7 separate regions of the Homo sapiens genome follow, and regions 2, 3, 4, 5, 6 and 7 are each linked to region 1. Evidence: promoter capture Hi-C in 16 types of primary human blood cells and fetal thymus (Javierre and others, 2016). All regions are on one chromosome and are shown on one strand. Each heading gives the region's core, a stretch centred on a gene start or on the middle of the fragment in contact. The rest is flanking DNA. Distances are from core to core; before and after follow the strand shown.

Evidence for each region. Contacts are between HindIII fragments. The CHiCAGO score rates a contact against its expected background, and 5 or more counts as called.
Region 2: a contact is called between a fragment that was not itself captured here and the fragment with the promoter of VANGL2 in region 1, in 1 of 17 cell types (activated CD4 T cells). The highest score is 6.1, in activated CD4 T cells.
Region 3: a fragment that was not itself captured here is called in contact with the fragment with the promoter of VANGL2 in region 1 in 2 of 17 cell types (M0 macrophages and M1 macrophages); the score reaches 5.8 in M0 macrophages.
Region 4: a contact is called between a fragment that was not itself captured here and the fragment with the promoter of VANGL2 in region 1, in 2 of 17 cell types (M2 macrophages and M0 macrophages). The highest score is 5.4, in M2 macrophages.
Region 5: a contact is called between a fragment that was not itself captured here and the fragment with the promoter of VANGL2 in region 1, in 1 of 17 cell types (M0 macrophages). The highest score is 5.1, in M0 macrophages.
Region 6: a contact is called between the fragment with the promoter of IGSF8 here and the fragment with the promoter of VANGL2 in region 1, in 6 of 17 cell types (M0 macrophages, M2 macrophages, M1 macrophages and 3 more). The highest score is 10.6, in M0 macrophages.
Region 7: the fragment with the promoter of ATP1A2 here is called in contact with the fragment with the promoter of VANGL2 in region 1 in 1 of 17 cell types (M2 macrophages); the score reaches 5.2 in M2 macrophages.

What each region holds. Positions count from the first base shown.
Region 1 is chr1:160,398,352-160,402,501 of GRCh38, forward strand. It overlaps VANGL2 (VANGL planar cell polarity protein 2), which reads left to right and starts at 2,213. Exons shown (of 8, transcript NM_020335.3): 1 at 2,213-2,518. All of the region lies in intron 3 of LOC105371466 (a long non-coding RNA gene), which reads right to left. The HindIII fragment of the contact is 3,661 bases long and covers 312-3,972 here.
Region 2 is chr1:160,863,731-160,867,880 of GRCh38, forward strand. No RefSeq gene overlaps it. Among named protein-coding and RNA genes, the nearest start is that of CD244, 2.9 kb to the left of the region's middle. The HindIII fragment of the contact is 689 bases long and covers 2,061-2,749 here.
Region 3 is chr1:160,036,655-160,040,804 of GRCh38, forward strand. KCNJ10 (potassium inwardly rectifying channel subfamily J member 10) reads right to left here. Exons shown (of 2, transcript NM_002241.5): 2 at 813-4,150. Among named protein-coding and RNA genes, the nearest start is that of PIGM, 6.7 kb to the left of the region's middle. The HindIII fragment of the contact is 3,750 bases long and covers 441-4,150 here.
Region 4 is chr1:160,056,582-160,060,731 of GRCh38, forward strand. All of the region lies in intron 1 of KCNJ10 (potassium inwardly rectifying channel subfamily J member 10), which reads right to left. Among named protein-coding and RNA genes, the nearest start is that of KCNJ10, 12 kb to the right of the region's middle. The HindIII fragment of the contact is 299 bases long and covers 1,946-2,244 here.
Region 5 is chr1:160,073,925-160,078,074 of GRCh38, forward strand. No RefSeq gene overlaps it. Among named protein-coding and RNA genes, the nearest start is that of KCNJ9, 5.5 kb to the right of the region's middle. The HindIII fragment of the contact is 416 bases long and covers 1,982-2,397 here.
Region 6 is chr1:160,096,363-160,100,512 of GRCh38, forward strand. It overlaps IGSF8 (immunoglobulin superfamily member 8), which reads right to left and starts at 2,257. Exons shown (of 7, transcript NM_052868.6): 1 at 2,047-2,257. The coding sequence starts at 2,110. RefSeq lists enhancers at 1-389, 390-918, 919-1,445 and a silencer at 2,012-2,841. The HindIII fragment of the contact is 5,064 bases long and covers 1-4,060 here.
Region 7 is chr1:160,113,765-160,117,914 of GRCh38, forward strand. It overlaps ATP1A2 (ATPase Na+/K+ transporting subunit alpha 2), which reads left to right and starts at 1,995. Exons shown (of 23, transcript NM_000702.4): 1 at 1,995-2,109. The coding sequence starts at 2,098. RefSeq lists enhancers at 115-733, 1,486-2,269. The HindIII fragment of the contact is 17,914 bases long and covers 1-4,150 here.

The sequences.
Region 1 (4,150 bases), core at 963-3,462:
ACCATAGGGCACATGGGCCTTCTAGCTGGGTCTCTGTTTGCTTACTCAGTGACTTGGGGACGTGTGAAATCCAGATGGGATTCTATCCTGAGGTGAAGGTAGAAGGTAATACAGAGAATTGCTGAATGGGACAGACCACACCAATAAAATTTTTTGTTGGACTCTGTAATCCAGTGTTTTCATTGCAGAGATGTAATTGAAAGCCCCCAACCTCACCGTCAGAGAAAGGAGGGACTAAGCTTATTCTAGCCTGATGCCTGATACCTGTTAATTGGGAAGCCTTGTCTGTTAACATCCTGACTTAGGTTTCAAGCTTTCAGTGGGGCCAGACTATGGAATTATCTGTAATTCTGGCATCAGAAGCCCTTTTTCCAGTTCTTTGGGCCATTTTGGGGTCTGTGAAACAGGCTAGCAGCATGTGAAGATAATTCACACTAAATCTGCCTGAGAGTCAAGACAGTGCCACGGCAGCCCCGACTCTGTGTCAAATTACACACTAGCTGCCTAGCACTGGGGTGTGCTTTGGGGCAGGGCTGGGGACACCCATGTCCTCCCTACTTCCCTTAACCCTTCCCCAGCTCTCCTGCCACTCCCTCATACACCTGGTCGTGGTCACTGCCAGGAGCCCCAGTGCGGCCCAGTGCCTGCACATGATAGGCACAAGGTGAATGAGTGCCTGGACGCATGCAGGGACTTGGGTACCTGAAATGATGATTCTGCATATTTCATGTAGTCTTGATGCTGAGTCACCTGCTTACCCATACTACTGGAGGAGGGGATGAGGAAAGACAGAGTTTGGGCAAAGGAGAAAGGAAGTGTGTTTTACTGTTCTGCATCTTTGAACAATGCAGCATAGTTGGTTCTGTCCTCATCTTTGGACAGGTTAGAATGAACCATCAAAAGGGGTGAGATTAGGTCTCAGGAAATAGTTTTCATCAGGGAGGAGCAAAAATTCCCAAACAAGTGAGGAACAGAGGCTGGGAGTCTCTTTCTCTGGGATTCCTTAATCACAGGGTTGTTCAAGCAGGTGCCAGGATTGGAAACTGAAGGAGGCTGAGATATTGAAAAGGCCTTGGCCTGCTTAGGGAGAAGTATGTGAAGATGCTTTTGAAATGATACTACTCTAAGTGGCGGGTTGCACGGCAATAACATTAATGATAATTGAATACTGCTTTCACTTACTCCAAGGGGAACATGGACTTCCCACAGCCCAGGCTTTTACGGTGTGGGTTCACTCTTGTAGGGTCACATGTAAAAGAACCCTAACTGGTTTCTTGGCATACTGGGAGGCACAAATGCCCCAAACGTGTAGGATATTTTGTGAGATCCTACAATCCCTGTGTGGCACCTTCAACTCTAAAGTATCTGAAACTCCTGGGATGGACAATCTGCCTGCTTGGGGTTGGGGACCCAACTGGCCAAGGCATTTTTCCTCTTGGAGGTTTCCTGGGAGAAGGCCCCCTCTCCTCTGCCATTCAAACTCCCAGGCGCCCGCGTCTTTTCCTCCTCCCCTTCTTCCCTAAGGCAGGGTTCCCTTTGTAATTAATCCCAACACTCAAACCAGAGGGGAGGAAAAATGTGTTAATGAGGGAGCGTCCCAGACTGACTGGGGCGGTCGCTGCTCGCAGCTAGAACTCCAAGTAATTAAATTATTTTTGGAAGGAGGGGATATGGTGGTGATGGTGTCAGGGAAATCCCCGTATGCATGGGAAGAGGCGTGCGCCTCTCGCCACTAATTAAAATCAGGGATGACCCTCCCTTCTCGGACCCCTAGGGGGAAAAAAAAAATCAATCTTCCCACGTCCCAGATTCCATTGGATTTTGTGTAGTCGGGTCCGTGGCCCTAAAGAGAATATGGCCAGCCCCAGGGATCTGGGGGCTCCTTCTCCGACAGGAGGGGTCCAGGAAGACAGCCCCAGGAGGGACTGCGGGCTGGGCCAAGTCCAAGAATCGAGGCATTCCCCTGCCCACCGTTCGGGACCCGAGTGTCAGCCCCACCGCGGATTCCCAGGATCGGGGAGGGCCGCTGGGCATCTGAAGGCGCAGGGCTGGGGGAGCGGCGACTCCGGGAAGAGCGGGGCCGCAGACAATGGACGCGGCGGTAGGAGGGGCGGCGGCTGTGGGAACAGCCGGGAGGCGGCACCCGGGAGCTCGCGCTCCCCCGCCCCCTGCACCCCCCACCCTCATCCCCTCCCCCTCCGCCCCCTCCCCCCTGCGCCGCCGGCTCCCGATCTGATTCCTGATCCTTGATTCCTTGATCCTTGGTCCCGCCATGGGAGCCTGAGCGCCCCCTATTCCCCCCTGGCCCCCAGCCCCCGGGGCCTTGAGGGGGAAGAGGCAGCGGTCTGGGACGGAGCAGGGGGTGACCAGACTCAAGAACCCCCCCCTCAACATCCCCCATCGCGCGCGCTGCCTGTCCAGGAGCGCCGAGTTCGGAGCGACCCGGAGCGCTGCGGATACAAAGGCGACGGGCCGAGCGGGGCGCCCGCGGAGCCCACCCGGCAGTTCGCAGCGGCGGGTGAGTGCCGGGCCGCGGGGGCGCGGGCAAAGTTTGAAAAAAAAAGAAGAAAGAAAGAGAGAGAAAAAAAGAAATGGAAAAGGAGGAAAATCATGCAAGGGGCCAGGGGGTGCCCGACCCCAGAGCGAGCGGGGTGGCTTATGGGGGAAGGGGGGCTGGACTCCGGGCAACCCCCTTCCGGTCCGCTTCCCCACTGCACAGCGGAGTACCCCCCCCAACTTTGGGGAGGGGAAGGGGCTCGTGGGGAGGGGGCGGAGCCCAGGCCTGGAGAGCCGGGGACTTTCCTGGGCCCGGGCGGGGGCCTTAATGATCCCAGGGGAGCCGGTTGAAGCCGGAGACGGGGAGCTTGTGTTGGAGGTGGGGGGAGAGGCGTGGAAGGATCGGAGTCTGGAGGTATTGGAAGCCAAGGGTGTTTTGGGGTGCATACACCCCTCAGGAGCGTGGGGAGGGACGGAGGCAGGTATGCGTTAAGGGTGTAGAGTGGAGTCAGGGGGGCGGGTTGGGCAGAGTAGATAGGGTGTATGTACAGACCGAGGATGGGGCTGGAGGCGGTAGACTGTGTATAGGGGCCGAGGGGACAGGCGCTGGCATCCCTCTCCCCACTCATATTTACCCATCTGGGGGACTGTGGGCTCTGCGTTAGTGAGTTTTGAAGGGTTGGTGGAGGATCCGTGTGCATGATTCTTTGTTTTGGTGTGTGTGCACGCCTTGACGTGCTGCATGTTCCTGCAGGTGGGCCCCTGGTTTGGATGTGTAGGTGTTTTTCTGTGCTTGAGTGTGTGTGCACCCAGGGAGCGGCTGACCATGCATCTGCTGTGTGTTTGGATATGTGTTTATATGTATACTTAGGGGAGGGCGTGTATGTCTATGTGTGTGTACTGGGAGAGGGGTTCACGGGAAAGAGGTGTGTAGGTACTGAGGAAGGTGGGTGTGTAAGAGCAGAATGGAGTGTATGTGGATAGGTGTGTGTGCACCTGTGTACTGGGAAGGGGTGTGAATCTGTGTTCTCTTGTGTGTAACCTGTGTTGATGGGTATCAATGTGTGTGCCTGCCTTAGCTGGTATGTATGTTTCTGAGTGTGTGTCGGGGGTACCTCTAGACTCTGCAGGCAGATTTTCCTGGCAAAAATCCCGAAAAGAAGGCTGTCTGCAGGATTTTGAGACTTCGTGGATGGCCTCGCCTGGGTTTAGGGGTAGTACCTTAAGTATCTGAGACCTATGGGTGGGAGGGAATGAGTTGTCTTATGAAGTGCCTGTTTTTGGGGGATGGGTTTTTCTGGAAGAGGGCGTGTGTTGTGGGGAATAGGGAACAAGGGGTCTGGTTGTAGTCCTAGAGGAATTTGGAAGATTGGCGGGGTCAGGGAGAAGAATAAGAGGAACTTCCTCCCCCATCGTCATAGGCTGGGTTCCAGCGCTTGGAGAAGCTACACTCTTGGATTCCCAGCCTTAGGTAAAAGCTTCAGGCCACAGTTCTCTTGGAAAGCCGTCTCAGAGTTTGCTGCTTCATAGCCTTCTAACTCTGCCCTGACTCTAAGATCCTAAAGTTCCTGAGGAGTCTTGAGATTTTGGTGTGGGATGGAAACAAGAGGAGGAAGCATGTCTGGAGGGTTGAGACCTGGTGGGGAACAGCTTG
Region 2 (4,150 bases), core at 1,155-3,654, 470 kb after region 1:
CATGGGCCTATTTTTGCTGCCTTCCCATCCATGCTTGGACGCCACCCTCCAGGAAGGCCAGGCAGCTCTGGATCTGCTTAGGCCCCCATGGAGGGGTGGGGACAGCGGCATCCCCCCTCCCCTGGAACACTGTGCTTCAAGGCCAGGCCCCAGGGTTCATGCCTCTTTCTTTCTTCCTTCTGCTTTCCCCTTAACAAATACTTTCAGTTCCCTTCAAGTCCGCTCTTATTCTCTTTTTCCATCCTTTGGTCCATTTCCAGCCACCCTGTCTGAACTGGGCAGGGGGCAGCAGACTGACAGCTTCAGCTGCCAACAGAGGCAGCAGCGGGGCTCTGGACAGAGCGCTGGATTTAGAGTCAAAGACTTGGACTTGCAGCTCCCATTCAGCAACTTACAACCTATGTGATTCTGGCCTTGTTGCTGTCTGAGCCTGTAGGGTCAACAATACATCCTCCCCACCTTCACAAGGCAGTTTTCAGGATCAAATTAAAAATGATACTCCAGAATATGCACACAAAAAACACTGGACATAGATGAGGTTTTTGTGGTTTTGTTTTCATTTTTTTAAGCTCTGAATAGCTTTTTCCAGCGGGTCTAATGGTTATCATCTCTTCTCTCCTTTGTCTGCTCCCAAGGGGCAGCCCTCAACCCTGGGGAATTTCTTCAGAGTTGATCTGGCCATGTCCTTAACCTTGAGAAGTGGTGCACAAGACATGATATAACAAAGAAGGGTAAACTTCCTCACACGACAGGTGGAAAACAAGATCCAGCTGTTGGAACCCACTAATGAATGTGAATTAGGAATCAGCCTCTCCAATCCTGACCCCAACACCAGCTCCATCCTTCCCACCAGGCATGTGGATGACCTATCATCCCCTGGAAACAGAACTCGGAGCAGCTGTACCACTGAGTGTGTGTCTGTCTTGTGGTCCCTGACAAACTCTATCACACAATATCTGCTATTTGTAGGCTGATCGCAGTGGCTCATGCCTATAATCCCAGCACTTTGGGAGGCCAAGGCAGGTGGATCACTTGAGGTCAGGGGTTCGATATCAGCCTGGCCAACACGGTGAAACCTCATCTCTACTAAAAATACAAAAATTAGCCGGGTGTGGTGGTGTGTGCCTGTAATCCCAGCTACTCGGGAGGCTGAGGCAGGAGACTCCTTTGAACCTGGGAGGCAGAGGTTGCAGTGAGCTGAGATTGTGCCTCTGCACTCCAGCCTGGGAGACAGAGCAAGACTCTGTCACAAAAAAAAAAAAAAAAAAAAAGGTGCTGGGCGCAGTGACTCACACCTGTAATCCCAGCACTTTGGGAGGCCTAGGTGGGTGGATTACCTGAGGTTAGGAGTTTGAGACCAACCTGGCTAACATGGTGAAACCCCGTTTTTACTAAAAATGCAAAAAATAAGCCAGGTGTGGTGTTGCATGCCTGTAATCCCAGCTACTTAGGAGGCTGAGGCAGGAGAATCATTTGAACCCAGGAAAAGGAGGTTGCAGTGAGCCGAAATCACGCCATTGCATTCCAGCTTGGGCAACAAGAGCAAAAACAAACAAACAAACAACAATAATAAAAAAAAAAAACAACCTGCCATTTGTTCTACACACTGACCTCCCCAGCCCTGAGCTCTTCAACACAAAGTCTATGCTCTCCTTAGCTTAGTGTTTCCAAGCCTCACCCAGCGCCTGGTTCTTCAGAGTTGATTCGTAGATTGTCAAGTGCTGAAGGAATGAATGAATTCTCTAAGGAAGACATTTCTATTTCCCCTGAGATAGACTGGTTAGCTGAGTCACCATGGACCCTGCCCTCGTGGAGTTTTTATCTTGCCCTTCCTAATTTTTGTGCAGAGAGTCCTTCTGTGCAACTCAGCCACTTTAGCACGAGGACCCAAGACCTACAAAATCAATATAAACCAGAGACTCCCTTAGCTACATTTCCCATACATATTCACGAGATCTTTATAAGTCTGGGACAGGGGACTCAGACAGGGGCATTTAAAGGTTAGCGGCCATCTGGGAATCAAAGGTTCATAAACCCCTGCCCAAACCATGCTTTCATCAAGCTTCGGTGAGTCAAGGTCATTCCAGTAAATCCCACTTCTGATGCCAACTACAAATTTCATGAGTCCCCAGGACCACCCATTTCTGAGACAAATTGCAAGTTTGAGGTCCCCAAGACCATCTTCAGGTTTGATAATTAACTAGAATGACTCACAAAACTCACTGAAAGCTGTTTTACAAATGTTTTACTCAAGCCTTCACAAAGAACCCAACTGATCTTATAGGTATAGTCAACCAATCTTGCAAGAATTCAACAAATAACTTCTGTAATATTAGAGTTTATTAAAGCAAAAAATACAGATGAAAATGAGCCAAGGGAAGAGGTACCTAAGGCAAGGTCCAGGAGAGTCCCAAACAAAGGAGTCAGTCACAGCACTTCCAGTTCTCCTCTCCCAGTGGAGCTGTGCAGACAGGGCCTACTTCTCCCAGAAACTATGTGTGACAATACACACAGAGAATATTGTTAAGCAGGGAAGCTCTTCCAAGTCTTGGTGTCCAGAATTTTTATTGGGACTTGCTCACATAGACATGGCTGACCACCCATGTGGCTGACCATAGTCTCTGGCCCCTCCAGAAATTGAGTTGATGCTATGTGGTCAGAGCTCCCACCATAAATCACATTATAAGCATTGACAATGCTAACAAGGTCCCCAGTAATGAAGATACTCTTATCAAGCAGGACATTTCAAAGCTTAGAGATTACCTCCCAGGAGCCAAGGGCAAAGGTTGGGCCTCTCTTTGAACAAGGTTAATCCTTTACTGCACCACTGGAAAGAAGTTGTTAAAGTTGTCAAAGATGAACCATTCACAAAGAGCCCAACTGATCTTATAGGTATAGTCAACCAATCTTGCAAGAATTCAATAAATAACTTCTGTAACACCAGACACTAAATGAGAACTCATTGCCTTTATTTCTAACCATCTGAATATTGTCTGTGTTCCTGTTTGAATGAAACCATAACGACACTTTTAATAAGCACAATCTCTTTTTCTGTCTCTTTTTCTCAGAAGGGCTAGAAAATCGCTTTCCCTTCTATGTACATTTATCTTCTGTGGGCTTTCACTTGTTGGAAGAGAAGTAGCCAGTTATTGTTTATTTATTGGCTGTGATAACTTTCAGGTTCAGGTTAAAGGTAAGAGATGCAACAGTCTCATAAAGAAGATGGAAGACAGAGCCTCTCAAAACAATTTATGGGACATCAGATAACGCAGAGAACCCACATCCACAGGAGCAAAGGCTAAAGAGTGCAATCCATGTCTTAACTCATCTCAGAATTCAACATAACAAGAAATTTGCCATTCCCAGATTCAGTGTGAGAAACAGCTCTGACGATGCAGAGAACCGCAGGCTATCTCTCTGACACTAGCAATGTGGTGTGGGAAATGGAATCAATCTCTGCTTCCCTGTGTTGGAACAAAATGTTTCTACGTGAAAAAGGTACAAAAAAGTTTTCCCAAATTGCAAGGGAAATGCACCATAGAATAGCCTCCTATTTAGCCTCCTATTTAAAGATAATTAAATATAAATTTGTCTTATACATTTGTATCTTTTATTACATTGTATAAATCAGAATCTGATTTAGTATGAAATTATATTCTGAGATTTTTATGTTTGACATATTAGTAGACCAAGTGTTTTGCAATTAAAAAAAAAAAAACATAATGACTTCTAAGTGCCCTACCATCTAGTTTGTGAATTTTATCTAGTTTGTGAATTACAAATACAGAAAATCAAAATTGGGGTTATAATGATAAAGTCATTTGTGCAAGCCAATGTTCTCTTTTAATTTTTCTGTGCTACGTTGACACCTAGAAAGAAATGAATGTGATCAAAGTTTAGTGGTGTAATCAGATAAACTTATGATATGGTTTGGCTGTGTCCCCACCAAAATCTCAACTTGAATTGTATCTCCCAGAATTCCCACGTGCTGTGGGAGGGACCCAGGGGGAGGTAACTGAATCATAGGGGAGGGTCTTTCCTGTGCTAGTCTCGTGATAGTGAATAAGACTCACGAGATCTGACAGGTTTATCAGGGTTTCCACTTTGCTCCTTCCTCATTTTCTCTTGCTGCCACCATGTAAGAAGTACC
Region 3 (4,150 bases), core at 1,066-3,565, 360 kb before region 1:
TGCTAATGTTATATCTGGCATTAGTACATGGTACCTGCTATTGCTTTTCATTATATTTGTTATATGCTACTTGTTTTATTTCTGTTTTCTAACAAGTTTATAGGTTTCTTCAACCTTTTAGGCCTTTTAGGAACAATACATGTCCTATATCTTATATGTCTCATATGTCTTAGGATTCATTCCTAGTATTTCCTAAATGTTGTACTTAAGTATTTATTGATCATGGTAAGAGACCCAATTTTCTCCCTCCTCCTCTCTCTCTCCTTCCACTTCTGGGGAACAAGAGTCAGCGATCATAGGGTCTTTTGCCTCTCATCAGAGAAAATTCAGGCCTGGATATTAACAACCAGACCTTTCTCAGGCTACTGACAGACAAGGGTAGAAGAGAAATCCATTTATTTGAGATTTGAGGGAAGAAATGCCTGGTGATTAAAGGAATAAGCTTACAAAGAACCTTGAGGATATATAAGGAAAACTGGCAACAAGACTACATGGTAGCATGGAAGGGAAATTGGGCTTGTGATCACTGGCCAAAAGGGACAATGCCCAGGATCCAAAGCAACTTGACTTTTATGGATTAAGCTGAGCCAATTTTCATACTTCTGGGTCTTAAAGTTTTTTTCAGTATTGTCCCATGAAAACCGAATGTGAAAGGAACTCGCTAAAGCATGAGAGAAAAACAGAAGGGGCTTGGCCATGCAGTCAGAAGTTCTTCCAGCACAGCCGAATTCAACCCTCCACACTCATGGGTAGGTAGGTCTATGAGTTCAGACCTTGACAGTCTTGGTTTAGCTTTTTAAAAGAAGCTAGAGTGACAACCAAAGAGTCATCCATTTTATTTAGTAGCTTATTTTTAACAGACAAAAACAAAACAAATCTTACACACCTTTTTTTTCCTAGATAAATTTGACCTGGTTTAGTCTTTAGTGCAATGAATGGAAAAAACATCCCTAAATACTTCTGCATCAGTAGAGTTGGCCATTACTGAGCCTGGAGACCCATGCTAACTTTCCAGCAAAGGTAGTGTGTTACTGTACAAGTGAACTAGGTTAGCTAGCAAGAATAAAGGACCAGGGCAGCAGCCATGGAGAGGGCACAGTGTCCTGGACTTGTAGCAATAGTATAACTGGCTTTCTTTCTCTGCTCAGACCTTATAGGGAAACTACTGGATGATTTTATTAGGCTGACAGGGGTTGGGGGAATAATGGGGTGAAGCACATTGCAGAGATTTCGGAAGCCTCTCATGGAACTTCACCATCCCCTAGAGCAGCTGGTAACCCCACTCCTCATTTTCATTCAGAAGCATCAAAACCAAAGCATCACCCTCCATGCCCAAATGCCAGGATTGGAACTCTTCTGGAATCCATGGCTTTCTCTTTGGGCTGCTTGCAGCCACACAAAAGGCTGGGCCTTGACCTTGGGAGATCTTCAGCCTAACAGCTATTAGTCCTGGCATTTGGATTCCAGGGTTGAGGCTTCCCATTAGTGCCTCCCATACACCAAAGTGTTCAGCTCCTGAGTTTGATTTCAGGGGCTAGAGCAATAGCAGCTCCCACCCCTGTGGAAGACGGAAATACAGTGTACTTCATGAAAGGGAAACAAAATGGTGCTTTATTTTATTTTATTTATTTTAAAAAGGCGCTACAGTGGCAGGACGCTGCTGGGGATGGGGACACACAGTGTAAGTGGTAGATTTTCCAAGACTTCCCCTCCCTATTGTCCTCCGAGTTCCTCTCTTCCTGGTCCTATCAGTAGCATAGGATTCAACAAAAGCCTTCATGAATGCCTCTTTATTTCTGAAAAGGAACTTCTACCCCTCCCTTTCCCATTTCCAGACTTGAAATCCTTCATCAGCTATCTCACTTCCATGTTGAAACCAGGACCACTGATTGTAAGTCTGAAAATCTGGGTGTCCTACCCCATAACCAGGCCAAGATATCTGCCCCCAATGCTAAAGTCTCTGAATATTTCCTTTCTGTACATTCAATATATTTGGGCATATATACATCTATATACATCTTTCTATATATATATTATCTCTGTTTCTTTCTTCTTAGATAAACCTTTCATATATGTCATATCCTAATTTCCCAAGCCTCCCCACTTCTTGTTTGCGAGCCTAAGCAAGACTCAAGAGTTTCATTGATTTCACTAGGTCCCTCAGCATCATTTCTTTCTCATCTTCTCACCCCAGGTATCTTCCCCCATCAGTTGTTTCGCCCGTCTTCTGAAATCTCCCCTTTTTACACCTGTGCCTACCGAAATCTCCCCTTTTTACAACTGTGCCTACTACTCTGCTGATATTCCAAGTCCACAGTTGGTATGGGGGCCCATTTCTCACCAGACCTGGCTGCTTCTAAAGCTCGGCCTATTGCCTAAAAGAGGATTTCAGGTCAGAGGAGACAGACTATAGTCTAAAGAACCATTTAGAGTTAAGGTAGGGGGTAGTTGTTCCCTGTAGGGGGCTTGTGGGAGAAGATGCCAGATCGCATTAATAGGACAGTGTGATTTAAAGTGCAACTTAAAGCAAAGCCTGGGTAATAATGGAGGAGATTCCAAAAGGGTAAGTCAGAAAATGTTTTCTTCTCACTGTTTCATCCAAGAGTCTAGAGGCTTGAGTCTGGGGGCTTAGAATAGACAGCAGGGGAATGGGAAGAAAGCATAGCATGGCCAAATAAACCAGATGGAGGTTAACTTGGCAATGGATAGGAAGGTATAGACACACACACACACACACACACACACACACACACACACACACACACACACAGCAGTACATCTTGTCCCTACACACTGAAAGAAATAAGGTAAGTCTAATGTTGAATAAAGTTGAGAACGCAGAAGCTGGCTCTTGGCCTTCTGTTCTCTGTTTCAGATTTTTCAAGTTTTTGTGGTTCTTGTTTTTATGCCAACTAGAAGGTAATGGTGGGGTTTACTGTAGATGGACACCGAAGGGTCTTTGTTTTCAAGATATAGTTAGTTGAGTTCGAGGAGAGATCAATATAACAAGACCTTGTGCAATTATAGTTGGTGGTGATCATGGGTCTAGCCTCAAAATTTTGTGTTTCTCTGCAAGGCTCTGTACATAGATGCATGTATATATTCTGTAGCTTGTAACAATTGGCTGAGACCACCTTAAACTGCAACTTGACTTATAGTGGGACTATGCAGTACCACTATGTGAGGCTTCCTTGGTACCAAAGTGAGACCAGAAAGCACTCTAGGGATTTGGGGCTTTGGATAAAGCTCTGGTGCCTATATGCCCTTCCCTGACCCTTACCACAGACCCCACCAGGGAACAAGGAATAGGCTGAGTTTGATCTCTTAAAGTCTACTTTTTAACTTGTCTGAAAATGGCCTCATGGCAGAGGAGAGTAGAGATGACACTGATTTCTTCATTTTATACCAAGTCTCAGGAATGGCTGAGGGAAGCCATGGTTATTTGATCAGAAGGTATAATTTCATTTCCTTCCAGCATTGCCTAATGAAATAGCTGGCACTTTTCAGAAGGGCACTGGGAGGTGTAACTGAGAATAGTGGCTGCCAGCCACAGAGTTCTGCTCCTGCCCAAACCTTAACAAAGCATCACCAATTCTCAGAGGCTCTGTACAGCAGTTTGGAAATCTGAGAATTTACCCATCCCTCATGGTGGGATTGTGTTAACTTTCTGGGGAATCTGTGCCCTGTGAATCTAGTTTTACTTGAGCATCCGTGTTAAGAGAGGAAGGCCCTTGCATTTTCCCTCCCTTCTCCCAAAGAGTTGGGGTTAAGGAAGAAGGATCTAGGCTGAGCAGGAAAGGAAGAAGAGAAGCCAGGTACAGTGTAATCTGGAATATTATTTTCAGACCTTTCCATGGGGCCTGGGTACTGGACTCTTTTCAAAGGAACATATTGGCTTGGGTCCTTCCATTCACAGGACACAGGGAAACAGATCTTCTCTGGGCTGCCTGGAAGATAGGTTTAAAGGTTTAGATAACAACTTGTGTTAGTCACTCCAAATTGAAGAGTTCAGAATCCAGGATAGATATGGGTGGTTATATGTTTATGTTTCTTGGGCCAACTCCAATTCTCTGAGAACAGAGGCTATGAGGGAACTGGGTATCCTGAGAGTGTTCACTTGAGAAACTACAGAGGGAAAACAGTGGCGACC
Region 4 (4,150 bases), core at 845-3,344, 340 kb before region 1:
ACCTCCCAGGTAGAAATAGTTACTCTCCCTCTATGTTCCCGGGACATTTGCCACATCATCCTTTGTTCTCCTCTAGAGATTGTGAGCTCTTTGAAGGCACAGACTGTATTTTAGTCACCTTTGTAAGCTGTTACCTTTAAATTTAACCTAATTGGTTAGTAAAGAGGGAGGAATTAGAATCTCTGGGTGATTCTGGGCTAGGAATGTCAACTATACAGCATGTGAGCCATCACTCATCACCCCACCACCCCTTAGCAGATAACACTAATTCATCACAGTGCTTTTTATCTGACTGAGCCTCAGAATCATCCTCAATATGGTGATACAGAGAGTCATTTTCAATCAAATGGAGTTAGCCCAACAAATGAAACCTATTTCTTATCCTGGCATGTCTGAGTCACAAAGGTCCCTATGTATTCTCCTTTCCCGCTATTTGCCATCCTGTCTGTGTCACTTACTAGCTAGGGGAACTTCAGTCAATCTCTTAATCTCTCTAGAGCTCAGCTTCCTCATCTAAGGAGGCAATAAAACCTTCCACTATGTGGTCAGGATTACAAGATTTAAAGTATATGAAATCTGTAAGGCCCTTATGCAAATAAAGATGTTATTATCCTACTTTGCAGATGAATGAAAAATATTACTGAATCAGAGAAACTAAGGTTCAGAGACATAAAGTCACTTGCTGACGTTTATTTAATGGCAAAGCCAGACCCCATGTCTCCAAATCCTGTGGGCTTTTCCCTCACGTTGCCTCTCCACACCCCAGTGGCCTTGATGATGCTCAAGTTACACCATCCCTTCGATCTCCTTTCTCCAGGTGAGTTGTGGGGTAAGATTTACTCTAGCCCCAGAATTGAAGGGGACTTCCAACCCACTATTCTTTATCCCACCTCTCTATAATTCCTCCAAAACCCTCTCAGCCTGCCAAGAGGTGGGCAAGTGTGTGCTGAAGACTGCTGAGTAGAGCCAAGTTCCTTAATTACTATCCCTCAGCCTCTCGCCCTCTTGTCTGCCCCCAGCCTCAGGAGTATCAGGCAGCTGGCAGCCTTCTCAAGGCCTAGGATGGCCAGGGCCCTGGAGATAATGTTCTTGGGCTGAAGGCTAATGAGTTGTCACCTGATCTACCAGAAGAGTTTGAGAAACTAGGGAGGGTATGATGAGACCTATTCCTTGGAGTCCCAGGGCCAAGACAGGGTTCTCCACCTGAGAGAAGGGCGGGGGAGGCTGACCAGATCCCAGCTGAAGGGCCCTTCTCTGTACACTTTCCTGTCTTTGAACTTGAAGTGGTGTTGGCTGGAAATGAGGGGAGGCTTGGACCTAGGGGGTGGAGGGCCCAAGAGGTAGTGGCGGGTAGGGGAGGCAGAAGAGCTACTCCCCATTGTGAGAGCACCCCCAGGGCCAACTCCTGTAGAGGCTGTTTCATCAGCTCTGTGCCTTCCAGGAAGGACCATCCCCATCTTCCCAAACAGAGAACCTTTTCTGGACTGCTTCTTAATCTGTATTTTGTTCATCTTTGTGTCCTTCTCAGTGCCTGGCATTTCTTGACTTTAAAGAGCCTGTAGGATTGATGTTCTACATCACTTTTCCTCCTTCAGGCCCCCTTTTCCATGTGCCACCCACTTCATCCTTCGGAAGTCCTTCCTCTGAGCTTCCCATTGAAGTTTCAACGTTTGGACACTTGGGGGCACTGAGTCAGTTTCCCTAGCTCTTCTCTGCAGGCTGTGCTCAGCCCCACCCTGTCAACACTCTCCCTACTCTCTACAATGAGAGGGGCAGATGGGGAAACTGAGGCCCACTGTGGGAGTGCTTAGTAGGAGTGCCTCAGTGATAAAATCCAGGGTCTTCTGTGGAAGGCACATCTCTCTCTAGTGGTGAGAAAGGACAGAGGCAGAAAACTTCAGGCCTAAGCCAAAACTTGTCCAGAGGCAGACAACTCTGAACTTAAAGCTTCTTCCTGCACTGGCCAGGTCGTCCTAGGGGAGCCCAATGCTTCCTTGTGCTCGTGTGACCAAGGACAAGAGAAATTAGTCTTGGGAGAAAGGATGAATGAAAAGTAGGAAGAAGAGGAGAGGAAGTGGAGGGACCCTATCTCTGAAGTCCCTAGAATTACTGGTGGAACAGAGTCCTTTATGACCTGGTCTCTGCTGACCTCCCTAGCATCAGTGTTCTCTATCTGTACCCACCCACTTCACGCATGCATCATGTCCCCAGCCACACAAAACCTCTCGGTTCTTGAACAGACCAAGCTTTTCTTAGCAAATAATGGGGTCTCTTCCATGGAACACTCTTCCTTTCCCACTTTGCTTAATTTCTACTCCTCCTTCAGGCTTCAGCTTAGATGTCACTTTCTCTGGAAAGCCTTTCTGGATGCCCCCACCCACAACATGGGCTGCTATCCCCCTGTGTTCCCACAGTACCATGAACTTCCTACCTCAGGCTTTACGGTGCGCCAGGCATTGTGCTGGACGCTCCATGCCGTGCTTCATCCTAGCCTCCCTAGGGGGGCAATAGCATTGCCCTCAGATGAACGGGTGGAAACTAGACTTACATGGGTTAACTAACTTGCCCAGGAGGACTGCTCGTAAGGGGTGCACTGCAAGTTGAACCCAGGCCTGCTTAAATCTGCTTAAAGTCTGGGCTTCTCAACTTGCTACTGGACTGTGTCACAGAGTATTCATGCTGGGAAGTCCTCTATGGTCATCACGTTTAATACCCACATTTTACTAAAGAGGAAGCCAAGGCCTAGAAGAGGGGGGTAACTTTCCCAAGATCACACTGCTAGCTGGTAGCTCATGTTATTTTACATCAGAATCAGAGCAACAACCCTGGTCTTCTTCTTCATCTCAACTTATCTCTTCCTACAAGATCCTTTTCCTCACCCTGGGGTCCAAAAGTGCCAGTTTCTGTGGAGCCAACCTTGGAGCATTATCCACAGAAACTCTTCCCCAGCCAACCACAGCCACAGCCACAGCCCATTATCTTCAATCTGGGCCTCCCACCTAGTAGGTCTCAGGGTCTCCCTCACCCCTGCAGAAGCTGGCCCAACAAGAAGAGTTAGAATAAGCAGCAAATAGTGAGGTCCACGAGGAGGAGACATTCAGCAATGCTCTTACTGGGGTCTGTGGAAATGATCAAGGGATTCCTTTGAGGCCGCTGGAAACCCCACAGGGGCTCTGAGAGTCATTGGAACTATCTTCCAGGCCACTCAAGCTTTGTTCAGTAGGTGACTAAAGGGGGACTTTTCCTTCTCATCAAGGCAATGAGTTCTCCACCTCTTTCTGTCCCTCCCCTTATGCCCAGGGAATTCTTCCAGTTAAGTCAAAATTTACCTGTTGCTATCTGAGCAATTTCTTCCTATTTGTACCCTTAATGGAGCTGGAGACACAGAGGTACTCTGTACCTGTCATTCATATTCAGAAAATTGAGCCTGTTTCCCTGACAGGTGTCCTCTCAGCTCCCTTTCCTTCTTGGGGCTCCTGTTCCCTGCATGAAGAGCAGCCTCTGACCCTCACTCAGAGGAGTCTAGGGAGCTCACCATGACTCTGGGAGGCAATCTCTCTGCCCCCTCTCAACTTTTTACTTATTCCTTATCCACATTCCTCCCTTAAGAAGGAGGATGGGGTAGGGATGGCATGAGGACACTTACTAGATACAGAACTAGATTCAGAGGTGAGTGTCTCACTGTCCTCTGTCTCCTATAGTAACTAACTGCCCGAGCACAGCAGGGAAAGCTGAAGTTACATACATTGAGCAGTTCTCTTTCTCCAGTAGGGAACATTTGGAGCAAAAGAATCACACCAGAGTATAAGGGCTGGGGGAGGTGTGTTCCTGCATGAAGGAAGACAGATGGATGAGGCGGCTTAAGGAGAATCCAGTAGCCAGAGGGGAAGCATTTTAGATGAGGGGAAAGGAGAAGGAGTAGAAGGGCCCTGAGGTTCTCCCATGCAATTTTGATGGGAGGAAACATCATGGAGATTAGCACTCAATAATATTTGCTGATGAGCAAACCAATATCAGCTTAGTTCTCTATCTAACAGAGTTTCTGCAACTGTGACCCCATCCACCCTCCCAGGCCCCAGCACACCACTGTGCAGTCAGCCCTCAAGTCTCTGGGATCCCAATGGGCCTTCCTCTCTTCCCTTTTTAGGGC
Region 5 (4,150 bases), core at 940-3,439, 320 kb before region 1:
GGTCTCCTGAGAAGCTGAGCAGATGTCAGCACCATGCTTCCTGTAAATCCTGCAGAACTGTGTGCCAATTAAACCTTTTTTCTTTATAAATTACCCACTCTCTGGGTTTTTTTTTTTTTAATTTTTAATCTTTTTTTTTTTTTTGAGACAGGGTTTCACTCTGTCCCCTAGGCTGGAGTGCAGTGGTGTGATCACAGCTCACTGCAACCCTGAACTCCTGTGCTGAAGTAGTCTTCCTGCCTCAACCTCAAACGTAGCTGGAACTACAGGTGTTCACCATTACACCCAGCTATTTTTTTTTTTTTTTAACTTTCAGTAGAGACGAAGAATCGCTATGTAGATCAGGATGGTCTTGAACTTGTGAGCTCAAGCAGTCCTCCCACCTCAGCCTCCCAAAATGCTGGATTACAGGCTTGAGCCACCATGGCCTATCTCAGGTATTTCATTATAGCAATGCAAGAATGGCCTAATACACCAGGGCTACTGCAGCAGCCTTCTAACTACTCTCCCTGCCTCCAGTCTTCCTCCACTCTAATAATTCTTTGGATTATGAATTTCTTTATTTGAAAGTAATTAAGCACCAGTAAAGTACATCTCTCTGAAACACACATCTGACCGTACCACTTCCAAGTTTTAAAACCTTCAGTAACTGCCAACTATCTATAAGTAAAGTCCGAGTTCCTTTCCCTGGAAGAGAAGGCCTATTATAACCTGGACCTGGTGCCATTCCAGCCTTATCTTCTTCCACTGCCCCTATACACCCAAAGCTACAGCTACTTCTTTTAACACTCAAGGTTCAGCCTTATGTTCTCTTTCTGTGTCTTGCCCCTTGAGCCTTTGTCATTTACATAGCTCCAACGATTGTCCCTGAGTGATGCCCAAATCTCTATCTTCAATCCTACACTCTTTTTGGAGCTCCATATTTCTAGTTGCTTGCAGGGGATTTCCATCTTGACTTGACAGGCCCCAAACTGAACTCAGTACCTTCCTCCCCAAAGGTGGAAGTGCTCGTGACTTCCTTAGTTCTGTGTTACTCCTGGTCAATTAGAATAAAAAACTACAAGTGACCTTTACTCTTCACCGTTGCCTTGGGCCCATTCCTGGACATGTCAAATAAGCCAACAAATGCTGTCAAGTCTCCCTTTCTTTCATCTGTTTGCAATGTGCTTTTTCATTCCTATGACCACTATCAGAATCAGAAAGATCAGGACCTGACCCATCCTTCACCTTTCTCTCCAGTCTCAAAGGAAGAGGCAACCTGTTTTCATCATGTCGGTCCCTGTGCCCTTGTTTTAAAACCCCAAACAGTTGCCTCGTGCTTACAGGTCACAGTGAAGGAGGTCTTCACCACAGAAGACCTAGAAAAAAAAAAAAGAAGATAAAAAACGTGACAGGCCCTCAGACTGAACTCGGCATCTTTCTCTCTGAGGCTGGAAGTGCTCATGACTTCCTTAATTCTATGTTACTTCTGGTCAATCAGACTAAAAAACTACAAGTGATCTACAGAAGTGTCCTCTACTAACAATCAGAGTGAGGATAGAGTCGGGTGGGACTGGGCAGTTAGAAAGACTTTATAAGTCCTTGAACAGCAGGGGTGGGAGCTTGTGGAAAAGTACACAGGTAGCTTCAACAGCACTGTAATGTTCTGAATTTAAAAGAGTGATTTAAATTGAGTTTTTGTTCTTAAATTATGCTTTATAACATATAGACATATGTCCACCATCTATATTCTTTTGTACATATCAAATGTCAGGTTTTCATTTTTAAATTTGTTTGCAAAAGAGAAGTCCTAGGACAGTCTCTAGGAGCCCAGTAGGGAATCAGTAATAAGGGGCATAGGACACTAATATTTGTGAGTGTTTACTACATCAGATAGATCAGAAGATGGGGAAACTGAAGTTCTGAGGAGTTAAGTGGTTTGCCTATGGTAACATAGCTGGAAAGTGTTTTGAGATTTGAATCCACATATATTTGACCCCAAAGCTTGTCTCAGAATAATGCCAGAGGGAATTTGCACGTTTTAAACACAATCTTGCCAACCAGAGGCTATGACCCCTGAGTACATGTTGGTATGAAAAATTCCCCAGAATTACAACATCCAATGTCCACCATGAAACATGACAGAGGAAACTTCTCTTTTTGAGGACCCCTCTCTCTTCTTTCAGTTTCCCAACTTGCGTCTTCCTTATTCTCCTCCATTTCTCCTTTCAGACTCACTGCTTCCAGCTTTGGCCTCATCTCTACTTTTACTTCATTTATAATGGGGCAGAGGCTACCTCAGAGCAGAGGAGGAGGAGAGTTGGGGTGTGTCACCTGTTTTAGAAAGAATCCACAAGTGGGCAGCAGTCTGAGGGGCTTGCGCTGGGCAAAGCAGATGTGGACAGAGGGAATCAGGAAAGCTTTGGGTTGGGAGGCATGATAGAGACTCAGAATAGTTAGTATTTAACAAGTCAGGGGAAGTGGCTAGAAAGAACAGAGACACTGGCATGGCTCACCACAGGATTCAGGATTCCAAGTGGCGTTTTGGTGCTCACATCCCACAGTGCTGAACAAATTCCATTAGTAGTGGAGCATCTCATAGCTGAATGACTCAGGCCGCAGAGGAGAAATCCAAGAGAAGGACTGAGCTACATTCCCCTAGTCACTAACGAATCATTATGTAAGTAGATCACCCCCTTTAAATAAATGCAATATACACAAACCCACATTTATAAGACATAATTTAGGGAATAGTTAGTTACCTACTAAAGAATTCTTTCCTTTAAAAAAGAAAAACATGGCCAGGCACGGTGGCTCATGCCTGTAATCCCAGCACTTTGGGAAGCCAAGGTGGGTGGATCACCTAAGGTCAGGAGTTCAAGACCAGCCTGGCCAACATGGTGAAACCCCATCTCTACTGAAAATACAAAAAAAAAAAAAAAATTAGCCAGGCATAGTGGTGTGTGCCTGTAATCTCAGCTACTCAGGAGGGCGAGGCAAGAGAATCACTTGAATCCGGGCGGTGGGGGTTGCAGTGAGCGGAGATCGCGCCACTGCACTCCAGCCTGGGCAACAGAGCGGAACTCTGTCTCAAAAAGGAATAAAAAAAAAGGAAAAAAGAAAAAAACAAATTTCTCTAACTAGGGACTTCTAGTACCTTTCCAGTTGGGTCCAATTGATAGAAATTCCATTAACATCCAATGCACTGTGATAGGAGGGAGGCAACTGGGAATAAAGAAACACGAGGAATCTCGAGTCGGGTGGCCTGAGTCTTAGTCCTGACTATGTTCTTGGGACCTATTCCTACCTGTAAAGTAAGGGCTAATCCTGTACCACCTCTAACCGTCATATAACTTTTAAATCTTAGCCTATCTCTACCCAGTCCTATAAAGCAAGATAGAACTCTGTGTGAAGGCTTCTGATCCTCCTGCTCTGCTGAAAGTAGCCAGAAAGGCAGCAAGCTCCTCAGCCTCAGGAACCCAGCCTGAGGCAAGGGGCTGGCTGAAATTGCCTCCGTCTGGCCTGGAGCTGTGCTCTGCTTCTCCCCATTTCACTCTAATCTTCAGCTTCAGTCATTTGCCACATCTACTCCTTCAACCATATCTTTCCTCTGCTCTGAGTTTTCTAGAGCCCCATCCCCCTTGAATTTATACAAATTTTTGCAATCAACCAGATTGGCCTCCCTGCTCCACTAAACTCATATCCTCAACTGTCTGCTGTCTTCCCCATCATGCTTCCTCTTCCACTTGCCAGATTTTGCACAAGATGTCTCATGATCTTGTCCAGGGAAGCCTCCCCAGTTTGGCTGATCTCAGGGCTGCCACAAAGGCACCTGCTGATGGGGCAAGTTGAGGACTGAACTGCATTCAGCTTGCCAATTCCTGCACCCAGCTCAGAGCTGTGTCTGCTGGAGGAAGGGAACCTTTTATTTTCTCCCAAAAGTATCACCTGTTCCCTGTTCTCCAAGTGACAGGCCACAGTAGGCTCTTTTTAAGCTCTTTTCCTATTTTGCACCACGGTTCCTTTTTTTTTTTTTTTTTTTTTTTTTTTTTTGAGACAAGGTCTCACTCTGTTGTCCAGGCTGGAGTGCAGTGGCGCAATCACGGCTCACTGCAGCCTTGAGCTCCCAGGCTCAGGTGATCCTCCCACCTCAACCTCCAAGGTGGCTGGG
Region 6 (4,150 bases), core at 1,007-3,506, 300 kb before region 1:
CACACTCCTCCAGAGGGGCAAAACCAGAGAGGAAGATGGGGAAACTCCAAGGCCAGGCCTGAAGGGACTGACCTCACCAACCAGAGTGTCACTTTTAGGCCTCCCAGGGGGATACCATGGACTTTCTGCAGGAGCTAGAGGAAAATGCCCAGGAGTCTGTGGTCAAACTCTACCCTCCAGCTTCTCTAGAACGGCTCCTCTGAACTTCCCCACCCCTGCTTCTGGGCTCCTAGCCCCTTCCTTCATCCTCTGGCTGGGTCACAGGGAGAACTCATGGTCTGTTGTTAAGGGCACAGCTGCCAGTCAGGAAGTGGGATTCCAGCACCATCCCCATGCCCAGCTGTGTGGCCTGGGATCCAGTCTCTTTCTGTCCTAGGCCTCAGTTTCCACACTGGAGGAGAACTAAGAGCTCCAGCTCTGACCATGTGTGAGTGCGTATGTGACTCAGGAGAGCCCTGCCCCAGGCCAGGCAAGTTTCATAATCAGAGTGACGGTGGAGACAGCCAAGCTGACACCTTCCCTGACTGCCTCAGGGCAGACTGCTCAGAAGGCCCCCTCCCATTTTCCTGGCTCCACAACTGCTGATGCTTGGAGATGCCCATGGGAAAGTCACCTCCACAGCCTTAGGAAATCAGTTGCCACACAGCTCTCTCTCCCCTCCTCTGTATCAGTCGCAGCAAGGAAAGGGACAGCAAAGAGGCCTGCTTTGGAATCAGATCTGTGTTCAAATCCTAGCCCCAACACTCACTAAATGTGCTCTCTGGGGCAAGTTACTTCATTTTCCTCATTTGTGAAATGAATGTAAGTGCCCACAGGCAGTGGGTGCTCAGACCTCTGCGTGCTCCTTTTTCAAACACAGGCCAGCACTTCCCCACCTCCCTGGGCTCCTCCCTGCTCCATGCTGCCCACTGGGGAAAACACACCAAGTGCTAGGCAACCCAGGCCCCACAGCGCCTTCCTCTCTGTACATCCTCCTGCCACCTGCCCAGGGACCAGGGAGAGGACTCATCCTAACCCTGCAGGGCCCAGGGACCTGCAGCAGGGGAAGGCTTTGCTTGGTGCCACTGTGGAGCTCTGGTCTAGAAACAGGCAGCTGGGGCTACCTTCAGCCTCTGCCTTGACGACAGCAGCTCTGAAGTCACCATCCCCACCCCCACGCTTCACTCTCATTTCAAGGGCTTCAGCCTCATCAACATCTGTACTGGCAGTTTCACTGTCTCCATGCCATACTCTTCCCCAGACCACCTCCTACAGGGAGCCCTCCAGTTCAGGCCAAAAACAATTCCACTGTCATTATCCCCATGCATCCATGCAAGATTGGCCCAGAACACCCCACCATGAACACCCACCACAGCAGGCACAAGGTGCTTGGAGATCCCAGGATCAGTCTCCATGGAACCTGGTTTCTCCTGAGGCAAGGAAGCTGGAACTAAGCGGTGTGAAAACTGATGGGTGGCTGCAGAGCCAAGTGCCATTTGGGAGACAGGAAGAAGGGCAAAGAGGGACCCAACCCAGGGTGGAGATGGGGGTGAGAGAGGGAACTGCCCCCAGTTGATGAAGTGCGTGGAGCGCAACTGGGAGAGACTTACTTCAAAGATCGTGGGCAGAACTGGCCTCTGGGCCTCCAGCCAACTCTGGGGCAATTATGAAGCTGGGCAGGCACTGCCCTCGTAGGGCGGGCACCCAAGGCCAGGCCTGGAGCTGAGTGTGGGGCAGAAAGGAGTCGCAGCATTTGGTGCAGCGACCCCAGTACGTGGGTATGCTAGCTGAGATGTGTGGCCTGCCCCGGGAGGCCGAGCAGTGCCTGGGGCAGCACCTTAGTGGGTCCTCTCTACGCCCCAGTCCCTGGCTTAGAGCTGGGGAGCCTGCACTCTTCCCAAGACTGGCTCGGCGGACAGCCACAAAGCGCAGCTGGACGCCGACCCCGGGGAGGCTGGAGGTACCCCTGACGGAGGAGGATGTGAGGAGCCCCGAAATGCTAGGGGGGTGCTGGATGGCAGGCACCTGCCCGGCAGGGCCGGGAACCGGAACGGGGGCCTGGCTTACCTAGCATTAGCAGCAGCAGCAGCGGCAGCGAAGGCGGCAGCAGCGTGGGCCTGAGGGCGCCCATCCTGCGCGGCCAGCTCTGGGGAGGCTCCGGGGGATGGCGCGGGTTCTGGGGGGCCGGAAGGGTGGGGGGCGCATGCCCAGGTTGAGGGCAGGAAGCGGGGCAGCGAGGCGTGGGTGCGCCGAGCGAGCTGAACTGGAGCTGCCGAATCCCCTCCCTCCGCCCCTCCCGCTGCTTTCCCTCCAGCCCTCGGCAGTTCTGAAACCATTCTCGCCCCGGCCCGCCCCGGCACCGCCCCTTCCACCGCCCCGTCTAGGCCCGCCCCGCCCCGGACCCAGCCTTGGCCCTGCCTGCCCCACCCCCGCCAGACTCCGGCCTTTGCTCCGCACCTGGCCCCGGCCCCGCCCCGCCCCTCGAAACTCACCTTTGAGTCGCATCGAGTCCCAGCCCCGCCCCGGCCCCGCCCCTCCCCGCCCCGCCCCGCCAAGACTCCAGCCCTGGATCCGCCCCGGGCCTCGGCCCAGCCCCAGTTCCGGCCCCTCCCCCGCCCCGCCCCACCAGGACTACAGTCGGACTCCAATCCTGGCTCCTCCCCGGGCCCCGGCCCCGCCCCAGTCCCAAGCCGCACCCCTTCCCCGTCCCCGCAGGGCTAACGTCAGCCTCCAATCCTGGCTCCGCCCTGGACCCCGGCCTCGCCCCGCCCCTGGCCCTGGCTCCGCCCGAGGCCCCCGCAGGAGTGAGCTAACTGCACCTCTGCGCATCGAAATTCCCACCCACCCTCGCACAGAGCGCATTCCACCCCGCACCTGCCAGCCTTTCCTGGAGAGTTGGGTGCAGGGTCCCTGGGATTGGCGAGGTGACTGTGACCACGCATTTAGAATTCAGTTATTTGCTCTGAGCCATAGTCCTCGCTGCAAACCCTGCTGAAGTAGGGGTTGGCGGAAGCCAGGAGTTCCTGAATGCGAAGGGTTTGAGCTGAAGGGCGCTTCCAGGATCCAGAAGGTCACTGGAGACCTGTTTTTCACCCCCTCAGAGGGCAAAACCAAAAGAAAAATGGATTAGGAGAGGGGGCCGTCCATGTGACGTCATTTCTGGGTTGGGTGATCCTAGCCCAGTTGTTTAACCTCCTTCAACTTCAGTTTTCTCCTCTGCAAATTGAATTGAGGTTGATCACATCACCCAAAGGGTTATTGTGATGATAGGTAATGTACATAAAGTGTTTGGCACAGGAAACTAACACAAAATGGGAGATAAGGATTATTTTGTTTTAGGTTTTGAATTATTATTTGAACTGCTTCCTAAGAGGCTTAGTTTAGACCTGGCATTTAGGTGAAGGAGTCTCTATGTTCAGTGACAGTGGGAAGAGATGAACATTGCTCTGTTCTAGGAAGAGTGGGGCTTGCCCTGGAGGTGGGAGAATGGAGGAGGCACCCTTCCCAGGTGCTCTGTCTCTTCCTGAACTGTAAAGATGGGAAGTGGGCAGGGGCAGGAAGGATGAGACCAGAATGGGGAGAAGAGATGGCCAGGTTTGCAAAGCCAAGGCTGTCAGAGTGGCTGTCAGTGGGAGGTGACCCCAGAGCCCATTTACCACCCTCTACCCTCCAACATCCTCCCTCTCCCCTCTCATCCCCCTTCCCTCCCACTCACTCACCCCCCTTTACAGAAGAGGAAACTGAGGCCCAGAGAGGGTAAGTGGCACAGGCCAGACCAGACCTTCCTTGACATGGTATTCCTCAAGCGTGGCACAGTGCCTGACTCTGAGAAGATGCTCACGGGGTTGCCAGTAGAAGCCACATTGAGGAACCCTGGAGAAACCAGAGAAACTGAGGCCTTGAAGGGAGATCAGAGGTCCAGCCCTCACTTCCCAGGACTGCCAGCACTGGCCCATGAACAGGGCAATAAGGTGCCTGTTTATTCCCACTTTGAAATATCCAGAAGGTTGCTCCAGAACCTCATCATCTAAATCCATCCACAGGCATATCGAGCTATGTGAAAACTGAAACTCATAGGGGAAGCTTTTGGAAGAATACGTCTCTCCCTTTATAATGGATTTAATTATCGAGTGGATTTAATGCCTTCATGATGCTTGAGGGATGAAAGATG
Region 7 (4,150 bases), core at 745-3,244, 280 kb before region 1:
ACAGGCGCTTCCTAAACCCCAATTTATCATGTTGTTCCCACAGCCCCCAGGCAAGCCTGCCCCAATGTTGATCTCCCTAGCTGCCTCGGGGCCACTCTGGAGTGACTTTGCTTTAGACAGTCTCTCCTGGTGTCTAACCACAGGCTTTCCCGCTACTCCCCTCTCACTCTCTCCTTAACACACAGGGGCTGAACTGGTATCTGTTCCCTTCATTGTTTCCTCCCTCTGCCCATTCTCTCCCAAGACCAAATCTGAGCTCGGAGAGGGGGGCCATGAGAAGGCCCTGTTGGCCCCATCCTACCCACCCTTTCTGACTGTAACCCAGAGAGGGAAGGAGCGTGGAAGTGAGATGTGACCTACCAGGTCCCTGTAATGGAAAATCTCAACTGCAGGCCCGGAGGGGGCCAGTTATTTAGGGAATTCAGATGTTAGCCTTGTGCCCTGAGAGTGGATTTGCTAGAGGAGAGGCTGATAATCCCTCTGCAGGGAGTTCCCTCTGGGGCCAGAGATGGACCCAGCCCAGCCAGCAGGCACCTTAGGCCTCTGGCCAAAGCCCCCCTTCCCTCCCTCCCTTCCTCTCTGCTTTCTTTGCACTCAGGACACTTAGACCTGCCCCACTCCGCTGGCTTCCCCTCACTCCATCTCTGTGCCCAGAGAAACAGGGGTACTCCAGGGGAATCCTGTCCTCTGACTGTTCCCAGTAGAAGGCGGGAGCAGAATTTTTTCTTTTCTCTCTGCCCCTTCTGGGTTCCCCTTCCTCTCTGTGCCCCTCATCCTTTGGATTACTCATCAAATGAGCAGCAACAACACCCCTAGACCAGCTGGTCCTGTCCTGGGTCATCTCGTTGTCCCCAGTTTCTAGCTGGTATAAGGTTAAAGATACCCTTTCCAGCCCCAGGCAAAGCCTTAGGCATTTCTGGGATTGCTCCTGACTCTGATGGGCATCCTCACTCCTCAGACATTTCCAATCTCCCCCACTTCACTGCAGAGAGGCCTGTTCTCCAGCCTCAGTCCTGCATGCTGCAGCTTTGCTTCCCCTTCCCCACTGGAAGAAGGAAACAGTCGCTCTCCTTTCCCGTTCACATGTCTGATATTTGCTATGATATTGACCTTCACACACATCTTAGAGGTTCTGTATTTTCCTCTCTTTTGACTTCTCCCTATCACTACTCTACTCAGGCATAGATTCAGTCTAGAGCTCTTCAACAGCAATGAAACGGTAAACGAGGGGTAAACAAAACCCAGAGATGTCATCAGGTGCCTGCTAGGAGTCCCACCCGTTCCCCTCTAGCCCTGGCCTGCCCCTCCCTACCAGAGTCTTGATTCTCCTTCAAAACTTTGGAGAGGTTACATCTGGCAGGGTTTGGGGACACCCTCTTGCCTCCATCTCCAAACTTCCCGCTGCCTCCCGAGCCACCTTTGACTCCTCCTGGGCCCCCCTTCCAGGTGCCTCAAGTGCAGAGGTCAGCCTTCGGTTCAAATTCTATTTCTGGGCTTCAGTGTCCCTGCAACCTCTATAATAGAAGGAACAGAGTGGTCTATGTTTCTTTCTTTCTCTGGGAGATTGGATGTAGACTCGGGAGACCTGAGTTCTGGCTCTGTCTTATCAATTCAAATTGTTTAATCTCTCTGAGCCTCAGTTTACCCACTTGGAAAAGAAGAGTTAGGCCACATGGTCTCTGTCATCCTGGGATTCTGAGTCAACTGCTCCCCTTCAGCCAGATCCAAGGGGGCATATCCCCCCAACCTGGGACCCAGGCCCCCTTCCCTTGCAGCCTCTCTCAGTTGTGAGTGCCACAGGCCAGAGGGGGTTGAGAGGAGCCAAGGGGGGGCATGCCGTGGGACAAACGGGCTGTCTAGGGCCAGTGGCTAAAGGGGCGGGAGGGGAGGAGTCCTCAGGGATCCTGTTTCAACAAACGTTTCTTTCGGAGGAGGGGAAGGCGGGGGAGAGGGGGAGAAGGACCTATTTAAAGCTACCCTGTTGCTTTGGCTTTCTCTGTCTGCCAGGGTCTCCGACTGTCCCAGACGGGCTGGTGTGGGCTTGGGATCCTCCTGGTGACCTCTCCCGCTAAGGTCCCTCAGCCACTCTGCCCCAAGATGGGCCGTGGGGTGAGTATCCCTAAAGAGCAGGGGTCGCAGTCTAGAGGGTGAGGGAGGCTGCTGAGGAAGGATGAAGTGGGAATGGGATGTGGAAGGAGCGGGAGAGAGGAGCTGAGTGGGATACTTGGAACTTGAAACTAACAGTCTCCAAACTACCAATGTGTGTACAGATCCCACGGCGGTCACATACCCTAGTGCTCTCCTCTCCTCTGCACGCCCCAGCCCCCTGCCCACAGTTAGACCCACAGCCCACCACACATGCCCCCTCCATCTCTCCCTCCACCCCACTCCCACATCTCTAGTCCTTCCCTGCAGCAGTCCCTCCTCTCACTGCATCTCCCGGCCTCCCAGCTGAAAGGATGTTTGGCACTGTGAGTCCTCCTGTCTTTGCCACCTCCTGAAAATATCCATTCCTCTGGGAGTCCTAGCCTGAGAGGCTGGGGGTCCATTTTGAGGTTAGAGAGGGGCAGTAGAGCATCCGGCTCCCAGAGTCACCAAGTAGTTCCGGACACCAGCTCCAGGGGCCCTGAGTGCCAAGGACAGCTGGGCGGGGTGTGGGGAGGAAGAATGATGACCCAGCCCCCACCCCAGCACCCCTCCGGATGTCCCGAGCAGCATTGTCCGTGGGTTCCAAGCCATGGGCTTTGAGGACTTTCCCAGAGGCTGGTGACAGGTGACCCCCCCCCCAGTCCACCCGTCCATGGCATTCTGCAGCAATGGCTACACCAAGAGGAAGATTAACAACAATGGGGCGGGCAGGGAGAGGGCTTTGAATTCTTGGAAATGAAATTCCCATATGGAGAAGAGTGGCCCAATCCTTTTACATGCTGTGCCTGGCTGCTTTCCTTTTGTGGAATACTGGCAAAAGAGGACACAGAGGGAAAGGGCATGCTGCGGAACAGGAGGGTATGAGGAAGACTGTGCCTAGGGGGAGCCGTGGGTGTTTCTGGGCCCAGGAGGAGTCAGGCAAGGACATGTTATTGCACCTAGTTGAGCAGCTGGGAAATCCTGAGCCTGGACACCAGGGTTCCTGAGCTAGGGTTGGAGCCATAAATAGAATTGGAGTGCATGCATGTATCTGTGTGTCTGTGTCTGTGTGTGTGTGAGTGTGTGTCCTTGACCACGTGTTCTCCATAGGCGGGGAGTCCTGCAGTTACTCATGGATGAGTACCTGTGTTTGTGTCTCAGCAGGCAAATTTGTAAATGTACAAGCCTTCAAGCCTGCACAAGCATAAATGTCACTGTGTGGGGGTGCTTGAGAGTCTGTGAGCCTGCCCTTAGGAGCTGTGAGGTATGGGCTTCACGGAGGAAGAGGTCATAGCTGCAGGAAGATATACTGTCTTGGGACCTTCAGCTGCATCTTGACATCTCTGGCTCCCCATGGAAAGGGCATCCCTAGCTGAGATGCAGGACCTCTGAGAAGAGGCAGGGGTTAAAGGATCAGATAAGCCCTCCATTTCCCCCATCCAAGTGAAGAGAGAAGGAGGGGAGGTAGCCCCCTACCCTGCTCCATCTTAGAGCAAGGTAGACCCAGCTCAGGAGGTCTTGCTTGGGAAGTGATGAGACCTTGACTTTTCCAGTCTGTCTTTTTCCCCTAGCACCCCCAAACTCCCCTTAATCACCATCCTAAGTTGCTGTGGGTGATGCAATAGCAAGATGAGGAGCAGATCTGGGCTGTTTAAACTAAGAGGCTGGGTGAGGTGGGGGTATTTAGGGCCTGGAGCTTAGAGTTCAACCTACCAACGACCCCTGAAGAGGGAAGGCATCTGACACCCACAACCTGTTCTAGGGATGATTTTTCCTCCAATCCCTTCTCCCCTGCATCTCCACTGCAGAGGCAGGCTTCACTGTCCCCCCATTACCCAGTGGCTGTGAAGGGCAGCGTGGGAGTTGGGGGAAGGGACGACACTGGTGGGAGGGAGCCCAGCCTGCTCCAGCTACCACGGAGAGGCTGAGATGGGGGGAGCGTTGGCGGATTCCCAGCTGCCCCCACTCTGTCCCAGCCTCTGGCTTTCTCAAAAAGGACTCTCTGTTCTCCTTCAGCATTCAA